Regions from separate parts of the Homo sapiens genome. Here regions 1, 2, 4 and 5 are each linked to region 3. The links are contacts of gene promoters, found by promoter capture Hi-C in blood cells and fetal thymus (Javierre and others, 2016). All regions are on one chromosome and are shown on one strand. The core of a region is centred on a gene start or on the middle of the fragment in contact, and the rest is flanking DNA. Distances in the headings are between cores, read along the strand shown.

The links. The method cuts DNA at HindIII sites, captures the fragments that hold promoters and counts their contacts. A CHiCAGO score of 5 or more calls a contact.
Region 1: a contact is called between the fragment with the promoter of CCDC17 here and the fragment with the promoter of HECTD3 in region 3, in 4 of 17 cell types (total CD4 T cells, neutrophils, total CD8 T cells and 1 more). The highest score is 9.6, in total CD4 T cells.
Region 2: the fragment with the promoter of IPP here is called in contact with the fragment with the promoter of HECTD3 in region 3 in 2 of 17 cell types (neutrophils and total B cells); the score reaches 7.2 in neutrophils.
Region 4: a contact is called between the fragment with the promoter of DMAP1 here and the fragment with the promoter of HECTD3 in region 3, in 5 of 17 cell types (neutrophils, activated CD4 T cells, total B cells and 2 more). The highest score is 9.4, in neutrophils.
Region 5: a contact is called between the fragment with the promoter of GPBP1L1 here and the fragment with the promoter of HECTD3 in region 3, in 9 of 17 cell types (neutrophils, total CD4 T cells, activated CD4 T cells and 6 more). The highest score is 20.0, in neutrophils.

What each region holds. Positions count from the first base shown.
Region 1 is chr1:45,622,622-45,625,321 of GRCh38, forward strand. It overlaps CCDC17 (coiled-coil domain containing 17), which reads right to left and starts at 1,433. Exons shown (of 13, transcript NM_001114938.3): 1 at 1,115-1,433; 2 at 936-1,031; 3 at 596-818; 4 at 334-496; 5 at 130-213; 6 at 1-46. The coding sequence starts at 1,288. The HindIII fragment of the contact is 6,664 bases long and covers 535-2,700 here.
Region 2 is chr1:45,749,238-45,751,979 of GRCh38, forward strand. IPP (intracisternal A particle-promoted polypeptide) reads right to left here and starts at 1,416. Exons shown (of 9, transcript NM_005897.3): 1 at 1,360-1,416. It overlaps LOC105378693 (a long non-coding RNA gene), which reads left to right and starts at 1,712. Exons shown (of 3, transcript XR_947290.2): 1 at 1,712-2,011. RefSeq lists a silencer at 1,257-1,526. The HindIII fragment of the contact is 27,355 bases long and covers 1-2,742 here.
Region 3 is chr1:45,009,874-45,012,573 of GRCh38, forward strand. HECTD3 (HECT domain E3 ubiquitin protein ligase 3) reads right to left here and starts at 1,451. Exons shown (of 21, transcript NM_024602.6): 1 at 1,016-1,451; 2 at 673-833; 3 at 328-420; 4 at 113-248. The coding sequence starts at 1,384. It overlaps UROD (uroporphyrinogen decarboxylase), which reads left to right and starts at 2,381. Exons shown (of 10, transcript NM_000374.5): 1 at 2,381-2,412. The coding sequence starts at 2,393. RefSeq lists silencers at 1,118-1,287, 1,368-1,497 and enhancers at 2,258-2,307, 2,348-2,477. The HindIII fragment of the contact is 5,887 bases long and covers 1,233-2,700 here.
Region 4 is chr1:44,212,120-44,214,819 of GRCh38, forward strand. It overlaps DMAP1 (DNA methyltransferase 1 associated protein 1), which reads left to right and starts at 1,352. Exons shown (of 10, transcript NM_019100.5): 1 at 1,352-1,739; 2 at 2,231-2,322; 3 at 2,584-2,700. The coding sequence starts at 1,635. RefSeq lists a silencer at 661-760 and enhancers at 1,158-1,452, 1,191-1,430, 2,196-2,697, 2,698-2,700. The HindIII fragment of the contact is 5,612 bases long and covers 906-2,700 here.
Region 5 is chr1:45,685,007-45,687,797 of GRCh38, forward strand. It overlaps GPBP1L1 (GC-rich promoter binding protein 1 like 1), which reads right to left and starts at 1,527. Exons shown (of 13, transcript NM_021639.5): 1 at 1,406-1,527; 2 at 570-614. RefSeq lists enhancers at 1,143-1,741, 1,368-1,517, 1,578-1,627, 1,698-1,817, 1,838-2,167. The HindIII fragment of the contact is 19,533 bases long and covers 1-2,791 here.

The DNA.
Region 1 (2,700 bases), core at 183-2,682, 610 kb after region 3:
GCCGGGGTCCCGGCCCCCGTCTCGAATGTAGGCCTCCCGCAGCGCCCTAGGGAGTGGGGAACAGGAAGGCCGTCTTTCCAGAACTGCTCAGCGCTTCGCCCTATGCCCATCTCCGGCCCCGGCTCTCACCGGATTTCGGCAGCCAGAGTTCCCGGGTTGGCCTTTTGCACTGGAGAATAAAGTTCTGCCTCTCGCCGGGAGCTCAGCGGGTTCCTGGGGTGGCAGGCGACGCGCAGGGAGACGGTAACGCATCAGAGGCCCCGGGGCTGCAGCCAGCCCGCCCCTCCCACCCCGGAGCCGCATGTTCCGGGGATCCGCTTAGTCGGGTCTCACCCTGGCTCCGCCTGCAGCTCCTGAATGCGGGCCCCCAACACCTCTAGAGCTCCCCGCGTCCTCCCGGCCTCAGCTTGTAGTTCTCGAATCTCCTGCTCCAGGCCGAAGAGGCGGGACATCCCGCCCCGCGTACAGGCCACAACTTGGAGGCGTCGGCTCAGTTCTGAGGGAATGCGGGCCGAGTCAGAACCGGCCCGAGCAAGCTTAAGCCAAACGGCGAGGGCAGAGGAGGTCCTTGGTCCCCGTCCCCCATCTCCTTCACCCTCGCCGCGTAGCTGCAGGGCCCGGCTCTGCGCTTCCATCTCCGCCACGCGCCTCGCGCGAGTCCTGAACAGCGCCCGCAGCCGCTCGCTGGGGCTTCCCACCGCCTCGGACATGGGACTCTGAGGCCGCGCCTCGGAACGTGTCCAGGGCCCCGCGAACACCCTGGGGACCTCTGTTATCCAGGGCCGCATTTCCTGTAGGGATAGCCGCAGCCACTGCACCTGGAGGTAACAGCGATCCGCGATCTCTGCGTGGGCAGAATCTGTCCCAAGTATGATCTACAGGTTTGGGGAAGACGCTCAACGTTTTGAGCCCTGGGGGAAGGTAGGTAGCTCTACCTCCTCTGTTAACCTCTTTAGAGCAGATCTACTGGCCTGCTGGTCTGGGAGGCCCTGGGGTTCTTGTGGCACGCCCTGGTGTTCTTGTGGCACAACCTGGGGATAGGGTGTAGTAGGATGAGGAATCATAAAGGTCCTGGCTCCTTTGAATCCCCACCCATGGCCATGGAGGCCCTTACCGCGGCCCGCTGGGGTTCAGTGGCAACTGATGCCTGTGCTCCAAATGTCATCTCTTGGGTCGGGTGGCCAATGCAGAAGCGCTGAGTATGGGTGGCTAACAGAGCTGAGGAGCGGAAAACCATGTCACAGGTCCCACAGGGCAGGAGCGCAGGCTCCCCAGAGTGGGAGTCCATGGGATGGGACCCGTTTCCTGAAACCAGCCAAGACCTGCAGAAGGGATCAAGGGCAGGGGAAAGGCAGAGGAGGATGAAAGAGACATAAAGCCAGAGGCAGAGAGGAAAGGCCGTGTCTATTAGGTCTGTGAGATCTTCAAGTTTGTTTGGGGAGAGCCTTAGCTCCCTGGACAGCAACCACAGGGCTGGGCAGGTCAGGAGAATGGGTGGGGAAACCTCGGCCGTTTGGGAGGAGCCACTGGCTTGAAAAAGTGTTACAAAGTCTGAACGTGGGCAAGTCTCTAATTGTAGCTTGGTTTCCCTGACTATTAATAAAGAGGAAAAAGCAGCTGCCTCCTAGACTAGGCTGGGCCCTTATCACTTACTACATCATTGGTCATTTAATAGCCTCTAAAAGGCAAGTGTCATCTTTTTCATTGCTGTACTCCCAAGTGGATGTAACAGTTTGTACCATTCTCCAATCCAGAGAACTACCTGGCAAAGGAGGCACTCTGACCTTTCCAGCATTCTGCCTGGAAACCATGTCGCACCAGGGATAGCAGTCTCCCTAACTCCCATTCCCTGATTCCTCATTTTTCAGCTGTAGACGAAGATAATCAGCACAGCCCAAGAAATGAAAGCTGTGGGCGAACAGAATGAATCTATCAGATGAGGGAATCAAGTCCAGAAAAAAACCCCTTCTCTCTCCCAAGATTGGCCAGAAGCCAGAAAGACCCTGAACTGTTGGTGAAATTCTTCACTCCACTCCCACTCCCAAAATATATGGAGGAGCTCTGAGGTGACCGCATATTTCTTAAGAAACCCTCTTTACTTTTTTTTTTTTCTTTTTGAGATGGAGTCTCGCTGTCGCCCAGGCCGAAGTGCAGTGGCGCGATCTCAGCTCACTGCAATGAGCTCTGCCTCCTGGGTTCACGCCATTCTCCTGCCTCAGCCTCCCAAGTAGCTGAGACTACAGGTGCCCACCACCACGCTTGGCTCATTTTTTGTATTTTTTAGTAGAGACGGGGTTTCACCATGTTAGCCAGGATGGTCTTGATCTCCTGACCTCGTGATCTGCCCGCCTTGGCCTCCCAAAGTGCTGGGATTACAGGCGTAAGGCACTGCGCCCGGCCAAGAAACACCCTTTTCTCTTCTTTTTTTGAGACAGTCTCGCTCTGTTGCCCAGGCTACAGTGCAATGGCACGATCTCGGCTCACTGCAAGCTCTGCCTCCCAGGTTGACACCATTCTCCTGCCTCAGCCTCCCCAGTAGCTGGGACTACAGGCACCTGCCACCACACCCGGCTTTTTTTTTTTTTTTTTTTTAGACGGAGTCTCGCTCTTTCGCCCAGGCCGAAGTGCAGTGGCACTATCTGGGCTCACTGCAAGCTCCGCCTTCCGGGTTCAAGCCATTCTCCTGCCTCAGCCTCCCGA
Region 2 (2,742 bases), core at 166-2,665, 740 kb after region 3:
ACAACAGAAATACTAGTCTGTTACCATGCTTCTCAGTAACTGCTGATACCATCCCACTGTCAGTGGAGTAGGAACGTCATCCCAAAAGGTGGCATGTGGAGTGACCATATTTCCAAAGGAAAAGAGCACAATTCTGTGACGTTGCATGCCTCACGTGCCCCAAACTTGAAAAGCAGATTGTTGACTGGGCAAGGTGGCTCACACCTATAACCCCAGCACTTTGGGATGTCCTGTCGGGAGGATCGCTTGATTTTTTGTTTTTTTTTTTTGTTTTGTTTTTGTTTTTTGTTTTTTTTTTTTTGAGACGGAGTCTCGCTCTGTCGCCCAGGCTGGAGTGCAGTGGCACGATCTCGGCTCACTGCAAGCTCCGCCTCCCGGGTTCACGCCATTCTCCTGCCTCAGCCTCCCGAGCAGCTGGGACTACAGGCGCCCGCCACCACGCCCGGCTAATTTTTTGCATTTTTAGTAGAGACGGGGTTTCACCGTGTTAGCCAGGATGGTCTCGATCTCCTGACCTCGTGATCCGCCCGCCTCGGCCTCCCAAAGTGCTGGGATTACAGGCGTGAGCCACCGCGCCCGGCCAGGGAGGATCGCTTGAGTCCTAGAGTTCAAGACCAGCCTGGGCAATACAGCGAGCCCCCCGCCGCAAAAAAAATTGTTTTAACATTAGCTGGCTGTGATGGGGCAAGCCTGTACTTCCGGCTACTTGGGAGGCTGAGGTGAGAGGATCGCTAGAGCCTGAGAAGTCGAGGCTGCAGTGAGTTGTGATCGCACCACTGCATTCCAGCCTAGGAGAAGGGGCGAGACTGTCTCAAAAAAAAAAGCAGATTATTAGGAAACGGTAGAAATGCCCAGAGGAACTAAAGCGGACCTATGTTTGCTGGCTTTGAATTCACTGCTGGGAACATGTGGAAACTGCTTCAGCAAAGGGGTGTCAGAAAGAATCCCCGGAACAAGTGTCAAAACACCCGTGGTTCTTTGTGCTTGAGTTGGGGGCCCGGCCTAGAGAGCTAGCCCTAAACTGCTGCTACACTAAAAGCTAATAATCGTTCCTGCGCTACCTAAAGGTCAGGGAAGGGATCTCAGACAAACGAGGCGACAACAGAGGGACTGGGGACACAGCCTCAGGATTCCCCAGTTGGGGCGGGGGAGGCAGGAGCGGTCCGGACGAGAAGGTCTGGGGAGGGCGACACTTAGACTGTCGGAGGAAGGCCTGCGGCGGCAGAAGGAAAGACAAGGAAATACACAGTTCTAGAGGCTTCTCTCACTCCAGTCCTCAGGGGTCCGGAAAGCCGGAGGGAGTAGAAGAGGAAGTTCCCAACCCCGTCACAGACGCGCCCGAACGCAGGCCCTCCTTACCCGCCGCTTCCCCTTCCCTCCGGCGCCCGCTCAGGCCCTGCGCGCGCAGTCGCGACCAGCCCCGGCCGGAGAGGGCGGGGGAAACCTGGCGGGGGTGACGAGGCGGGAGTGACTGGGCCGTACAGTTCCCCGAGAACTGGAGGCGAAGCCGGGCGGTGGGAAGGGACTTCGGACGCTTCGCGGGCCCTGGGTTTTCACTGCGCGTGCGCGAGGTTCTTCCGCTCGCGGGAGACTGGGCCGCTGGCGCCTCTCAGTGCCCACTGATGGGGCCCAGGGCTTGGGCTTGCTTCCCCAAGGATCAACAGCTTAGCTGCAAGCCTCTGCTTCTGCCTGCTGGGGCCGGCTGGCTCGCCCTTTCCATTCCGCTTGCACTCTGATTCTTGTGGTGTCCCAAGAAGGCCGCGGATCTCAGTTAAGCAGAGACGAGCCGAACACCTGGCACGGTCCTTCTCTACTGTTCTCTCGAATCGTTTTCTGAGTGCATGACTGAGCCTGGCACTGAAGGGATACTTATTTTGGGGAAGGAAGAACTCAAAAGTCCAGTTTTTTTCACTGTTGACCCTCATGTGTCACATTAGTGGCTTTCAAACTGTTTTGATCCCAGCCTACGGTGAACAAAAATATTTTACATCAAACTCAATACCACATACTTGTGAGTATATATATAGAAGTATATATCTAACATAAAATCTCATTTCTTTATTTTTATTTTTATTTTTTATTTTTTGAGACGGAATTTCGCTCTTGTTGCCCAGGCTAGAATGAATGCAATGGCCGGATCTCGGCTCACCGCAACCTCCGCCTCCTGGGTTCAAGCGATTCTCCTGCCTCAGCCTCTCAAGTAGCTGGGATTGCAGGCATGCGCCACCATGCCCGGCTAATTTTGTATTTTTAGTACAGACTGAGTTTCTCCATGTTGGTCAGGCTGGTCTCAAACTCCCCACCTCAGGTGATCCGCCCGACTCGGCCTCCCAAAGTGTATTTCTTTCTCTTTTTATGAGACAGGGCCTGGCTTTGTCGCCCAGGCTGGAGTGCAGTGGTGCCATCTCGGCTCACTGCAGCCTCGACTTCCTGGGCTCTGGTAGTCCTCCCACCTCAGCCTCCTGAGTAGCTGGGACTACAGGCCTGTGCCACCACCGCCAGGCTAATTTTTTGTATTTTTAGTAGAGACAAGATTTCGCCATGTTGACCAGGCTGGTCTCCAACTCCTGGGCTCGAGTGATCCGCCCGCCTCGGCCTCCCAAAGTGCTGGGAGGTGTGAGCCACTGTGCCTGGCCTGAAACAAAATCTTCACAAAACTATGTTTACACTTACGACCCGCAGTGCACTAAATTTTTATTTCTTCTTTTCTACTTCATTACCAAAAACTGCTAACAGGGACCT
Region 3 (2,700 bases), core at 201-2,700:
GCCTGTGGGGACCCTGTTTTAGTCCTGGCCTGCAGGTGGGGGTTCTTTCTGGATCTAGCCTTGAGGGGTGTGACTATATCTTGCCTGGGGTGGGAGGAGCCCCAGCACCCACCGTGTAGGAGGAAACGTCTATGCTCTCCACATACTGCTTCACGCTACCCAGGTTCTCATCCTCCTTGCCCAGGTGGTCATACAAGAAGTGGATCAGGTCCTCGTCGCACTCGTAGGTCCATGTCGGGGGTACATAGCTAAGCAACCCCAAGCCCCTAATTAGACTGGGCCCAGACGCAGAGCTCCTTCCTCCCCACCCCATTCCAGCTCACTCACAGTAGCCTTTGTACAGCTTCTGCGTATGCCTCTGCCGGCTGAGGTCTCGATCCCAGGCGATGTGAGTATGTCAGGTCCACCACCTGTTCCCACCTGTGGGCACAGAGTAGGGAGTGGGATGGGGAGACATCAGCGGTCAGCAAGACACTACCTCCATGCCGTGTAGCCTTCTTCAGGGCTCTATCTCCCAGTCTCCCTCCGAGCCCCCTTCACGTCCCGCCCCTTTCTGCTCTTAACCCTGCCTCCGCTCCAGTATCCCACCCACCCCAGGCTGTGGCTGAAGTGTTCCCAAGCCCTCCTGGCCCGGCCTTCTGACAGCCAGCCCCGCTCCTTCAAGTGCAGTACCTGAGCACCGGCCGATAATCCACGCCAAAGAGCTGCTGCTGCCGCTGGAGGTGGTTGGGAGTGTCGATGGGTACCAGGCGGGCTCCGCCCTCCGCCGGGCGGCACACCAGCAGCCAGCCTTCCTGCAGCCCGCAGTCGCCCAGGTGCTCTGCCAGCTGCTCCTGCCGGGACGCGTAGGATGGGGACAGCCGTCAGGGAACTGCCCAGCCGCCTGTCGTGCCCAGCCCAGGGCAAAGGGCGCCGAACGCAATGCCAACTCAATACAGGGGAGAAAAGGCAAACAGCCAGAGGTTTCTCTGGCCCCAGGGGTCTTTTACCGGGTCCTGGGCAGGGAAGAGCGCACCTTTGTCAGCTTCACCCAGAGCCCGTGGCCATTGCACAGCTCCTCGCCCGTGGTGCGCACGCAGGCGCCGCGCCGGAGCTCAATGCTGTCGCGGGCGGCGCGGAGGGGCCCGGAGCCGGTACCGGGGGCTGGGCCTGCGGCGCCCACACGCAGCCCCAGGCCCTCTGCCTCCCACACCGGCAGAAGCACGCGCGACGGTCCCGCTGGGTCCTTGTAAAGCTTGTAGAGCACCTCTCGCGGCACGAAAGCCAGCGCTGCTGGCAGCGGCCGCCCGGCGCGGAGGCTCCGCGCTGCCTCTGCCAAGAAGCGCACGCGGCCCAGCAGCTGCCGGGGGGACTCCAGCACCGCGCCCGGGCCAGGACCCGCCATGGCGAAGTGGCGGAGGTGAGCACCTAGAGGCGACCCTGCCCGGGGAACAGCTGGCGCGACCGCGGACAGAGCTTCCCACCACGCCCTTCCCCGCCTTTGGCCAGCCTTTGCCGTATGTTCTGGACTAAGCGCACCCCAGCTCTCACTGTATTGGACTGTGTACTCCCACACTCAACCATATTACTTATCTCTGTGCCACCCTAACCCAGCCGACCAAACCCAAGATTGGTGATTGCTACCTGATCAATCTCCCTCTCTCCATTTCCTTGTGACTACCATTTTATCTCTACTGCTACTACCCTCATTCAAGTCACCATTCTAGCTAGCCTGGGTCATTGCCAACAGTCATTTTTCTGGTTCTTCGGCCTGCTGTTTTTCCTCCCACTCCCAGCGAATCTGCTGGACTCCCTATCCTATGGGTGGTGTGATTAAAGTGTTTGAGACAATGGCCCCTTCCCCTGCCACTGACAGGAGTCTTGAGTCATTAGGGTTGATTCTGTTTGTCACTCCTAATCCCAAGGACACTGGAGATCATTATTCATTTTAATGTGATTGCTGATTTCTGTTTCCCCAGTCTTGTAGCTCCTTAAAGGCTGGGGCTGTCTTGAGCAGAGCTAACCTCTGCACCTACTATAGGTCCAGGCTATAGTATGGACCTGGCTGGATAAGACTGTTGGTATCATGAGTGGGACTTGCGCCAAGCCTCCGGATACCCAGACTGTCAGATGAGAACAAATTCCTCATGTCACCGTAAGATACATTTACAGCGGAGTTTTCTTTTGGGCCTTTGTTGTTGCGTCGCTACAGCAAACTTTACGGTGAAAAAAGGTAGGGGTCCTACGGGCAGCAGCCAGGGCAGCCCTGGAGCTGTCGCTGGAGTCCGATCATGTGATCTTCAACATGGCGACGCTCTTGGTTCCCTACAGAAAGGGGCGGAGCCTGGACTGGGGGGCAGGCTCAGATTCAGGTTAAATTGTGGATTGAGCTCGCAGTTACAGACAGCTGACCATGGAAGCGAATGGGTTGGGGTGAGTTCTCCAGAGCACGCGGTGTGGCTAGCCGGGCTTCTAATTTGAGTCTTCCAACTCAGGACTCTATCCCTCTACTCCCCTTTCCCCACCCTGGAGACCTCCCAACCTGAACTCCGTTAGCTGGGATCCTGAATCCTAAAACCATGGATTTTTGAGATGTTCATCCCAGGGCCTTAATTCAAGGGATGCCTCAGGATTTCCAACCAGGATCTCTATTCTGGGACCATCAACTCTGATCCCTCTTTATCCCCCAGCCTGGGTATTTCTCAGCCCCTGAACCAGCCC
Region 4 (2,700 bases), core at 102-2,601, 800 kb before region 3:
AGAGTCTAGAATAGTGCCTGGCACATACATTCCTTTATGTACTGTGATCCCTGTCTTCACAGAAATGAGTCTATTAGAGATATATATTAAACAAGTAATTACACAATTAATTAACTACAACTAGGGTCAAGTGTTTCAGGCAGCCAATTGCTCTCTCCCTTTCTGGCTCCAAGGACCATTTCCTTACCCTGTGGACAATTTCTGCTGTAAGACTGTGACTTCCTCCGGCAACTGTTTGGAGCTCAGTGGATCCATCCAGGAATCAGACCCAGGAACAGGTTTGTACCTCCAGGCCTAGTTCTCCAAAGTTTTGGGGACTAGTCAGGCTTGTGGCTACAGCTGTTGTATCCCCTTGTCTTCTCCAGGCCAGAACAGGCTACACCACTTATAGCTAACTTGCGCAAACTGTCTGCTCCTCTAGTCCCTGCTGGTATCTTTGGCAGGTCTCGACTTGGGGTCTGGCCTTCTTAATGCCTTAACAAGCCCCACCCTATCCCACAGGCTATGTGTCCTTCAAATTGACAGGCTGGTTTGCAGACTGCTGAAGCTGGGAGCTGCTTTCCTTGTCCCTTGTGCCCTTCCTCAGGACCTCCTGTCTCTCTCTTTCCAGGAAGATCCCCAGGTTTATTCCCTTGAGGGATACTTCTAAGCTGGTTCCTGCTTGGGGCTGTGTTTTGGGCTTCTTCGTAGCCCAAAGAGTGCAGCTAGCTCCTGTACTAGTGAAGTGCCACGAAGCTGGCCTCCAGGAAATCCCCACGAGGCCACAACCCACAGCTATCTCCATCAGAGGAGGTGCAAATGAGGGCCCACACCTTACTCCATTTTGGCAGCCGCCCTAGGAAGCTCTGCCTTTATTTCTTCATCTTCAAGCTTATCACAATTTGAAGTTTATCTCTTCACCTCCAAGCTTAGCACAGTGCCTAGTACATATTAGCACTTAATGAAGAGGGGGCAATTCAAATCATTAACTCATTTAATAAAAAAATAGTAAATGTCCCACGCACCGTGCTAATGTTTTACAAGGATTCTTGGTATTTCATTTACACAGGTGCCATTACAATTTCCATTCGGCAAATAAAGAAAAAGGTCCAGAGAAATTAAGTGACTTCCCAAAGTCACAAAGTTCTGGTATCTCTTCACTGCCTGAGACGCAACGGAGCATCGTAGAGGGAAAATGCCAGAAAGCAGGCAGTGCACCAATGAAAACAGGCTCGCGGGAGAACCAAAGGGTGGCAAGCTCAGCACGGCCAGTAGCTTTCACCCTCGGTTGCCAGTCGGCTTCGTTTCCTACAACACCGACCGGAAGTGTTTCTGTCGGCCGCGTTCCGAATGAGCACCGCCGGAAGTTTCTGCCGCGGCTTTGCGGGGACGGGGGAGTGGTAGTGGGGGCTGCAGCTGCCGGACCCAGGTGCGGAAGTGCGAGGGCCCAGGTGGCTGAAGGGGCCGTTAGGAACATCCAAGCGGTGGGGCACAGGCAGATCCCCGACCTGACCTGGACCACCCTTCTCCTCTTGGCCCGCCCCTTCAACTCGCCTCCGCTTAGGTCTGGATTGGCCCCGCCCCCTGACCTGAGCCTGGTCCTTCTTCAGGCACTGACCCTTGACCTCCGGTGGCTCCCCCATCTCTCAGGCGCGATGGCTACGGGCGCGGATGTACGGGACATTCTAGAACTCGGGGGTCCAGAAGGGGATGCAGCCTCTGGGACCATCAGCAAGAAGGACATTATCAACCCGGACAAGGTAGCAGGGGCACCTGAAAGCGTTGACTAGGGGAGGGTAGGGGAGTGAAGATGGGGAGGAGTGACAACGGGCAAGGGATGGGTGCTACACTTACAGTGAGTTGGGCGATAAAAGGGGTGACATAACAGGACAGGGAATATGTGTCATCCTTGATGGGAGGGAGGAGATGGGACATCGTGGGAGATGGTGGGACCAAGAGGGTATGACACCTCTAAGAGCTGAGAGGACCAGGCAAGTGTGATTTTTGCAAGATATTGTTGGGGAGAGATCAAGACATTGTAACAGTCTGAGAGTTGGTGGGATGGGGAGGGGACTGCTCTGATTTGGGCGTAGGATGGTGTTCCTGGGAGTGGGTTTCTGTGCCTTTACAGTGTGTCAGTTTGCCTGTCATTGACCCTGTAGGTGCTGCTTTGTTCAGGGATTGAGCTGGACTAAAGAATTTTCAGGAAAGGGTCTAGGTTGTGGTTCCTTTCTGTGGTTTCCTTCCTCAGAAAAAATCCAAGAAGTCCTCTGAGACACTGACTTTCAAGAGGCCCGAGGGCATGCACCGGGAAGTCTATGCCTTGCTCTACTCTGACAAGAAGCAAGTATTGGAGTCCCAAGTCCCCCAGGTTTTGGCCCCTGATTCACCTGCCATGCCCCTAACTCCTAGTTTTCTCTAACAATTTTCTCCTCCCCAGCAAGGGCTCCTGCTTGCTTAGCAGGATGCAGGAGGACCTGAAGTCTTTTGCTCCAGGACATGACTTTCTTGCTATAGGGTAGGGTAGATCAGCTCCCTGGGACAAAAAGCTCTTTAACACACCTTCTGATTCTAACCTCGCATCTCCCTAAACCTCCCTGCCAGGGATGCACCCCCACTGCTACCCAGTGACACTGGCCAGGGATACCGTACAGTGAAGGCCAAGTTGGGCTCCAAGAAGGTGCGGCCTTGGAAGTGGATGCCATTCACCAACCCGGCCCG
Region 5 (2,791 bases), core at 277-2,776, 680 kb after region 3:
ATTTATTGGTTTTGGTTTCCAATCTATGACTTTTTGTTTAAACTTCTGGATCTATCGATTAAAAAAAAAAAGCAAACAAAAGACAGTCTCTTGTTCAAAAGGGCACGACAATCAGGTACTCCATACCTAAAGTATGTTTTCACTTGTTAAAATGTCTTACACTATTCTAGTAAATATCTCAAACTTAATAGCACCCTAATTTCCTTTCAAATATTGGATAAAAAAGACCTTAGAAAAGATCAGCAGTCTACTAAATTACAAATATAAGTCTAATGAGGAGTGACTACCAATCACTTTACTTTTGGATAAGATTTACACAAGAACACGACTTACTACTAAACTAAAACATGAACCACTATTATTAACTGTATTTTTCTGGTAAGCAATAAATGTCAATGTTAAAAATATTTCAACAAATATGACAAGCCAACTTCAGAGCACGAAGTTGGCAGATAAAATTGACACCACAGCACAATTTCAAAACTATAAGCAACTATTAAACACACACACCACCGCACCGCACCCATTCTTATGTAAACTTTTGGAATAGTCAACTTTGTGAGCCTCACCTTTGTTTTCACCCAGCATAAGGAGAGTTAAAGGTGAGACACCAACTGCAAAAAACCAAAATATCAAAAGATTCAGTTAATGTCCCCACAGGGGAAAGGACTAAAATCTTTAAACGTTAATGTATTTAAGTAATCGAAGGGCAGGGCACTTCCCCAAGCTACAGCCATTTTGGATTCAGACTGTCTTTCGAATTTCACGGGTTGGGGAGAACTAGATTTAAAACAACAGAAAAAAAATAACACTTAAAACATTTCAGGATCGACCAGCTTTCCCTGCCCCTCCAAGGAAAGGAGGTTGGTAGATATCGGATAGACTCAATCTAAGCGAAAACACCTCGCTACCACAGAGAACCGGAAAGCTGGGGGTTAAAACTTTTTTCCCCTCAGATATCCAACATTTGACTTACACTTTTTCCTCCTTAGGTTTTCCTTTGAAGGAAAACAAAAGCCCTTAGCTCTCATTTCAAGAAGGAAAGAAAAAAACCCGTAAGCCAAGTCACTCAACGAGCACCAAGCCGGATCGCCTGGAGAGGAGCCAAAGAGCCGCAGGTGAGCGTTCCGACCCGACGACCGAAGTTAAAGTAGGAGCGCTTTCGCGGAGCCCCGGCGACGCTCGCGTGCAAAGCTCCATGCACGGGGGAGGCGGGGGTGCCGCATCCGAACCACTTGACCCGTGGGCTCCGCTCGCCCCTCTCGGGTCGGACCTATACCCAACCACCTGTGTGAGAGCTTCTTTCAACTAGTTTTAACAGCCCGTTGGTTAGGCACCGGGCGGAGCCCCGCGCCAGAACGACTCCAGGATCTCCTACTGCCCCGTTTCCCAAACTCCCACTCACCGGGCAGCGGCGGAGCTATGGCCAGGGACTAGACGCTGCGTCTGAGGACGCGTCCCCAGCTTGTCGACCCGGCAGAGGCGGCTAGTCCACAACCATAACAAAGCTCTTCCCAAAATGGCTGCCCGGCCCACAAGGTCCAGGAGGGGCAGAGCGGGTGGAGGAGGAGGAGCGACCAGCAGCACGGCCCTCCCATCCCCCGTCCGACCCCGCCTTACACACGCCCACCTGAAGAAGCGCATGCGCAAGGGACTGCTCCGGCGACCCTCCCGGACGCCAGTTCCCTACGCTGCCAACGTTCGGCCTCCAGAACGGCGGTTATGCCCTGCCCCGCCCCCGGCTCCCTTCTTCGCCGCTTGAGGCGGCGCATGGTCACCTCTGCCCCCTACAGAATTGAATCCTCTGCCTTTCCTCGTGCCGCCTGAGGCACGGACAAGCCTAGTTTAGTACGCCCCTTCTAACCCCCTTGCCCACTTCCAGGGCCTGGGCGCGTATGAATGAGTGGGTGGGTATGCATGTGTGTATCCCTTTTTTCTTCACCCTCCCACAGCCCGCCCCTTGGCCAGTGCGCGTCCCGAAACTACCTCTACAAGGACTTGCAAACCGGTTTCGGAGGAACGTGTGTTTTCCGGCCCTTTCCCACCTTCCGCTCCTTACTTCTCGTGTGCGCGTCGTTGAGACTCCAGTCCCCAGCGGGCCACACGGCCTGGCCCCGGAGGCTGCGCGGCTGCGTCGGCCGCGCTACCCGCTGGGAGTAGTAGTTCCCCTGGAGCGCAGGCGTCACTCCCCCGCCCAAGCGAAGGGCGGGATTCCGGCGAGAGCCTGCGCTTGCGACAGTGCCGTTTCTCCTACCTGAAGTCTCATTGGGTATCGCACTACTGGAAGGGGCGGCGCTGCCATGACAGAGAAGGCAATAAAACTGAAGGCCTAGCTCGACTAAAAGCGCTTACTATTAAGGAAGACTTCGCTGTGGCTCCATCCGGCACGGAAAGCTAAACCGTGTAATGGCTGGCAACCAGGAAGCTAGACTACCTAGAATCCGGAGGATTGGAGGGACTGGCCGGCGTGGGCCCCTGAGATCTCCTACTACATGTCTTCAGTTTTATCCATAGACACGGAAGGGCACTAAAATTGCCTGGTGCCATTTCCTGTGAAACAAGTCTAGATAAGAGAAGGGACTTGCCCAAGGTCACATAGCCGAGAAATAAAGCCGAGGGCAGTAGGAGAAATGATCTGACTTTCCGAACCACCCCCAAGCCTAGGGCCCTTATCACCACACCTTTCATGGAAGTGAAAATCCTGCTCTTGTGCTCTTTAACCCTTAATGAAGTTTATAGGTCCCAGCAAAGAAAATGGATGTAAGAACTGGGCTTTTTTCCCCCTCTAAAT